Linked DNA regions of Homo sapiens: region 2 is linked to region 1. Evidence: promoter capture Hi-C in human tissues and cell types (Jung and others, 2019). All regions are on one chromosome and are shown on one strand. Each heading gives the region's core, a stretch centred on a gene start or on the middle of the fragment in contact. The rest is flanking DNA. Distances are from core to core; before and after follow the strand shown. Region 1 holds the start of NPAS4 (neuronal PAS domain protein 4). Region 2 overlaps RBM14-RBM4 (RBM14-RBM4 readthrough).

Region 1 (2,910 bases), core at 233-2,732:
CACAGTGAGGTGGTCAGCTGGGTCAATGATGTCGTAGATGCTGTCACCCTGGGCAACCAGGTCCACCTGGAGGGAGGAAAAGAAGAGATGACCATTAGGGAGAACAGCAGGAGCCAATCTTTGATCTACAGTATCTTGTAGGGTATAACCTCTCCCTCCATAGTAATTCCCAGTTCCTCAGGAGTGGAAGGCTCACGGCACCCACTCCATGCCCAGCCTCAGCTGAAAGGACCCTTAGCACTCACCATGGAGTGGCCCAGATGCTCGCTCACACTCTCAGACAGGTAGAGCAATTTCCCCTCGGCTGTGAACACAAGCAGAAAGCCGGGTAGTGCCGCTACGATGTCCTCAAGCTCTTGAGCTGAGAGAAGCCCCGTGGGGCCCGCCAGAGGAGTGCCTGTAGGGCGAGAAGACGTAGTGCGTCAGGAGTAAGACTGGGAGGCAGAGAAGAAGTGAGGAAGGCATGGTCTGAGTTTCAGAGAATCCAGAGGAATTTCTCATGGACCTGCCTCTGCAAACACCTGTTGACCCGCTGCCCGCAGCTCTTGGCCAGGGAACCTGTTGCTGTATCTCCATAGCCCACAAGCCCTCGACTTCTAAAGCGGGGTCGGCTCCTCTCGGCTCTTAATTTCAGAACCGCGGACAGAGCTCCAAAGCGGCTCTGAATTTCAGAACCGCGGACAGAGCTCCGAAGCCGACTGTGGGTTCAGAACCATGGACAGAGCCATACACGGCCGGCGCAGCCGTCAGCACCATGGGCAGCGCCCCGAAGGCGACAGGAGATCCCTTTCAGCACCGCGGACAGTAGCTATGTTCCCCTAGGCTCAGGCAGCTCCATCCCTGCAACTTCCCGGGCTTCCCTCCCCGGCTCCCGGAGCGCTTCTGCACTGGCGGGCACCGAGGCCGCTCTGTCCTGGCTCTTATCCTCTCATAATCTGGTGTTAGGGACACCGTCCAGGCTCTCTAACTCTCATTCAGAACTAAGGTGAGGTCTGGAGGGAGCTCAGGAGGAAAAGTAGAAAGTCCCGAATCTCCCGAGTCCCGAATCTCCCCAGCTCGCCAGCACGCTGCCCTAGACATGCGACAGCCCCAGCGGGTTCCCTCAGCTCCAGGGTCTCCGGCGCCTGGCAGCTCGGATCTGCGGTAGCCCCAGCATGCTCACCACCAGCGAAGAAGACGCCCTTGCGAGTGTAGATGCAGGCGAGGCTCATGATGTGCAGGTAGGACAGCCGGACCTTGTCCGCTTCGGCCAGCGGCAGCAGCTCCTTGAGGTTCCGGATCTCGGCGTTGATCTGGTCCCGGCGCGCCTTGGAGGCGCCCTTGGTGGAGCGGTACATGACCGGCGGCTGCGGAGCTCCAGCTCGGGTGCCCGAGCACCTGCGCTCCCGTCCCGACGCACCGGCGGCTTCCTCCTCCGTGCTTCCCCGTCTCTCGCTCAGGCTCGCTCTCTGCTCTCCTGGGCTCCGCTCGGCTGCGCTGCCCCCCTCGCCTGCCTCACGCCGCCTTATATAGCTCCTGCCAGGCGTGGGGGGCTCGTTTTAGAGCCGGGGGGGCGGGAGAGCGGGAGGCTGGGCTAAGCAAGCTGCAGCGGGAGCCGCTGACTGGGGAGGGGGGCTCCTCCTCCCGCCCGGCTTCCGACGTCATCTCATGACGTAGAATGAGAGAGGGAGGGAGGCGGGCGAGGGGGGAGCAGGAGGCTGCGGAGGGGGCCAAGCCTGGCGGGAGCTGAGCGGAGAGGAAGGCGCTGCGTTAGGAAAGCTTGAATGGAGTGTGGGGACCCTGGCGTCTGAATGCGTTCAGTTGAGGGAAGCGACAGGGCCAGGTTTAGGGCGGCCTGAAGCCCGCGGCAGGAGTCCGCAGAGGGCAGAGAGGGGCCGGCACTGACACTAATTTTTCTGAGGAGTTGAGGGAATGGGGAAGAACAGGGTTGTCTACAAATCCCCCTCGTTACTTGACAGACAAGGTCACGTTCACATGCAGGGAAGGAGGACTTTCCTTGGCCTCCGTGGGACAGGTCACTGCTGGGGTTCCTCTCTGGGGACTATTTAACCTGGGATTCCCTTGGCCATTTTTAGAGAACAAATTCCCGCCCCCGCTTCCCAAATCGGGCCTTGGCGGCTTATCAGGGGGTGTTCATGGGGGTCTAAGTCCCGAGGATGGGTGGAAAGGGAGTCCGGTGGGAAAGGGACCAGCTGAATTTGGCGTTGATCCTGTTTTCCCACAGCCAAGAATAGAAACCAACATCAGCGCTGTAGTCTGCAGTGATTCGTGGTTTCCCTCTCAGCTAATTAACCTTACTGAAGGGGAAACTGAGGCAGGGACGTGGGGGCACGGCGAGGACCTGGGTCTGCACTTAGGCATCCCTTCCCCCCGTTGCCGGCCCCCAAGCGAGCGCTTCCCCCCGCCCTGCTGCCAGCCTCTGTCTCCCCGCGGGCCGGGGGCGGGGGCGGGGCCGGGGGAATCCCAGCTCCATATTAGGACAGGAATCCTCCGGCGGCTGCCGCGGCTGCGGCGGGCGGGGCCTGGCTGCCTCCGCACCGCTCCGGAGGGCTCCCCGCCCTGCCTAGGCGGGCAAGATGGGGGAGCAGCTGAGAAGCGAAGGGGCAGCGCCGGACCCTCCATGACCCCTGCACCTACCAGGGACCCTGTATTTTTGCCAGGTTCCCTCCACCCCTCTCCACATTTGCGCCTCTAAGGCTCCTGGCTCTGCCTCTCCACCTTCAGCTCTCCACTTTCCACCTTCGTTTCTTTTTCTGTCCTTTCATATCCTTTTCTATCCTTTTCATATCCTGTCACCTTTGCCCTATCCCCACCCCCCCACACACCCGCTTTTTTTCTCTTTTCACCACAGATGATTGCTCTCTACAGGGGCGAGGATGTGCCGTTCTTATCCTGGGATTCAATAATGCA
Region 2 (2,910 bases), core at 173-2,672, 210 kb before region 1:
TCACTTTGGGAGGCTGAGATGGGCAGATCACCTGAGGTCGGGAGTTCGAGACCAGCCTGACCAACATGGAGGAACCTCATCTCTACTAAAAAAAAAAAAAAAAAAATACAAAATTAGCCGGGCGTGGTGGCGCATGCCTGTAATCCCAGCTACTAGGGAGTCTGAGGCAGGAGAATCACTTGAACTCAGGAGGCGTAAGTTGCAGTGAGCCGAGATCGCACCACTACACTCCAGCCTGGGCAACAAGAGCAAAACTCTGTCTCAAAAAATAAATAAATAAATAAAGGCCAATTAAAGAGATCTGATCCAAATCCTCTGCCTTACCAGCTCAACTACAGAGAATGACATCAAAAGAGATGTTTTATTTATTTATTTATCTGAGAAGGAGTTTTGCACTTGTTGCCCAGGCTGGAGTGCAATGGCACTATCTCGGCTCACAGAAAACCTCCACCTCCGGGATTCAAGGGATTCTCCTGCCTCAGCCTCCTAAGTAGCTGAAATTACAGGCATGCGCCACCACGCCTGGCTAATTTTGTACATTTAGTAGAAGAGGGGTTTTGCCACGTTGGCCAGGCTGGTGTCAAACTCCAGACCTCTGGTGATCCACCCGCCTCAGCCTCCCAAAGTGCTGGAATTACAGGCGTGAGCCACCATACCTGGCAAAAGGGATGTTTTAAAACCACCTTGTTGGTCGGGCACAGTGTCTCATGCCTTCAATCCCGGCACTTTGGGAGGTCAAGGCAGGTGGAGTTCGAGGCCAGCCTGGGCAACATGGAGAAACCCTGTCTCTACTAAAAATACAAAAAAATTAGCTGGGTGTGGTGGTGCACACCTGTAGTTCCAGCCACTTGGGAGGCTGAGGTGGGAGAATCACCTGAGCTCAGGAGGCAGAGGCTGCAGTGAGCCAAGATCATGCCACTGCACTCCATCCAGCCTCAGGAACCAGAGAGACCATCTGAAAAAATTAAAATAAGTAAATAAAAGCACCTTGTCTGGAACACGGTAGATGCTATTTTGGTGATTCTTAATTTGCTGACTAGGCTACCAAGCTCCTCAGAGGTAAAGTGACTTGTCCAGTCATCTAGAAAGCTGACATTTTTTCAGAGCCAAGAATAAATATGTAATCTGGCTGCCAATCTTCAATAAAAAGGGCAGTGTATACAGAAATATAACTGAGAAATAAGAGATGAGACTCTCGGAAATGAGGGACAGATACAAACTTAGGGTTAAACACTGGTGACAGTGAAAACTACTTAGACATAAAAATGCAAACTATATGAGTTTTTTTTTTTCTTTTTTTGAGACGGAGTCTCACTCTGCCGCCCAGGCAGCCGTACAGTGGCTCAGTCTTGGCTCACTGCAACCTCTGCCTCCCAGGTTCAAGCGATTCTTATGCCTCAGCCTCCCGAGTAGCTGGGATTACAGGCACACGCCACCACGCCTGGCTGATTTTTTGTATTTTTAGTACAGACGGGGTTTCACCATGTTGGCCAGGCTGGTCTTGAACTCCTGACCTCAGGTGATCTGCCTGCCTCAGCCTCCCAAAGTGCTGGGATTACAGGCGTAAGCCACCATGCCCAGTCCAATCTGAGTTTTACAGGCTCAAGGACAAATATGTAACTTAAACATCTTAATATAACTTATACATCTAATAAATAACTCTGGCTCCTGGTCCAGAAATGAGTTACAGTTCTGCTAAGGGTGCAAACTAAAAATCCAGCATTCTCCAGGGATGTTCAATGGGCATCAGGCAGAAGGCTTCCTAGGCCTCCAATCCTACAGCCAATGCAACCTCTTAGCCTTCCTTAATGTCTTTGAAAATCCCCTACACTATCAATAACCTTTATTCTCCATATCCACAAGAATTGCTCCCAGGACACAAAATAGTATTGCCAGAGACTGGAGGTGGCCAAAATTGATGTGGTACAGTAGCCAAATCACTTCTAGGTATCGCTAATTACAAATATTCACTGCCTTCACTACTAGAAGTATGTGCTGCACTCACACCTATATCCAAAATCTTTGGATCAGCTGTGTGCTGCTCTACTAGGCCATCCCAGTGTCCCCAGAATGTTCTAACTCATTTATATGAGATGGCTAACATTTCATGAGAAGTGACTACATACACGTGTCACATGTCCTCATTTGACTCTCCCAACAGCCGTATAGCATAACGATTATAAACAAAGCCCTAGATGGTTCCAATGTCTGGTTCAGTTCCTTGAGCCACCAACTTTGTAGCCATTTGATCTTAAGAATGGCCAGGCATGGTGGCTCACACCCGTAATCCCAGCACTCTGAGAGGCCGAGTGGGAGGATCATTTGAGGTCAGGAGTTCGAGACCAGCCTGGCCAATATGGTAAAACCCCATCTCTACTAAAAATAGAAAAATTAGCTGGGTGTAGTGGTGCATCCCTGTAGTCCCAGCTACTCAGGAGGCTGAGGCAGAATTGCTTGAACCCAGGAGGTTGCAGTGAGCCAAGATCGCACCACTGCACTCCTCCCTGGGTGACACGAGACTCCATCAAAAAAAAAAAAAAGAATAGTCACTTAACCAACAGCCTCAACTCCCATATTTCCAAAATAGGTTTAGAAATAGCTAATGTTGGCCAGGCGTAGTGGCTCACGCCTGTAATCCAAGCACTTTGGGAGGCCAAGGCGGGCAGATCACGAGGTCAGGAGATCGAGACCATCCTGGCTAACACGGTGAAACCCCATCTCTACCAAAAATACAAAAATTAGCCAGGCGAGGTGGTGGCAGGCACCTGTAGTCCCAGCTACTCGGGAGGCTGAGGCAGAAGAATGGCGTAAACCCGGGAGGCGGAGCTTGTAGTGAGCCAAGATCGCACCACTGCACTCCAGCCTGGGCGACAGAGCAAGACTCCGACTCAAAAAAAAAAAGAAATAGCT

The links. Contacts are between HindIII fragments. The study calls those that stand out against the background at their distance.
Region 2: a fragment that was not itself captured here is called in contact with the fragment with the promoter of NPAS4 in region 1 in 1 of the 25 tissues and cell types used here (liver).

What each region holds. Positions count from the first base shown.
Region 1 is chr11:66,419,607-66,422,516 of GRCh38, reverse strand. It overlaps NPAS4 (neuronal PAS domain protein 4), which reads right to left and starts at 1,482. Exons shown (of 8, transcript NM_178864.4): 1 at 1,163-1,482; 2 at 246-397; 3 at 1-66. The coding sequence starts at 1,337. RefSeq lists silencers at 605-899, 593-907 and an enhancer at 840-1,436. The HindIII fragment of the contact is 8,655 bases long and covers 1-2,910 here.
Region 2 is chr11:66,631,283-66,634,192 of GRCh38, reverse strand. All of the region lies in intron 1 of RBM14-RBM4 (RBM14-RBM4 readthrough), which reads right to left. Among named protein-coding and RNA genes, the nearest start is that of RBM4, 6.0 kb to the left of the region's middle. The HindIII fragment of the contact is 7,143 bases long and covers 1-2,910 here.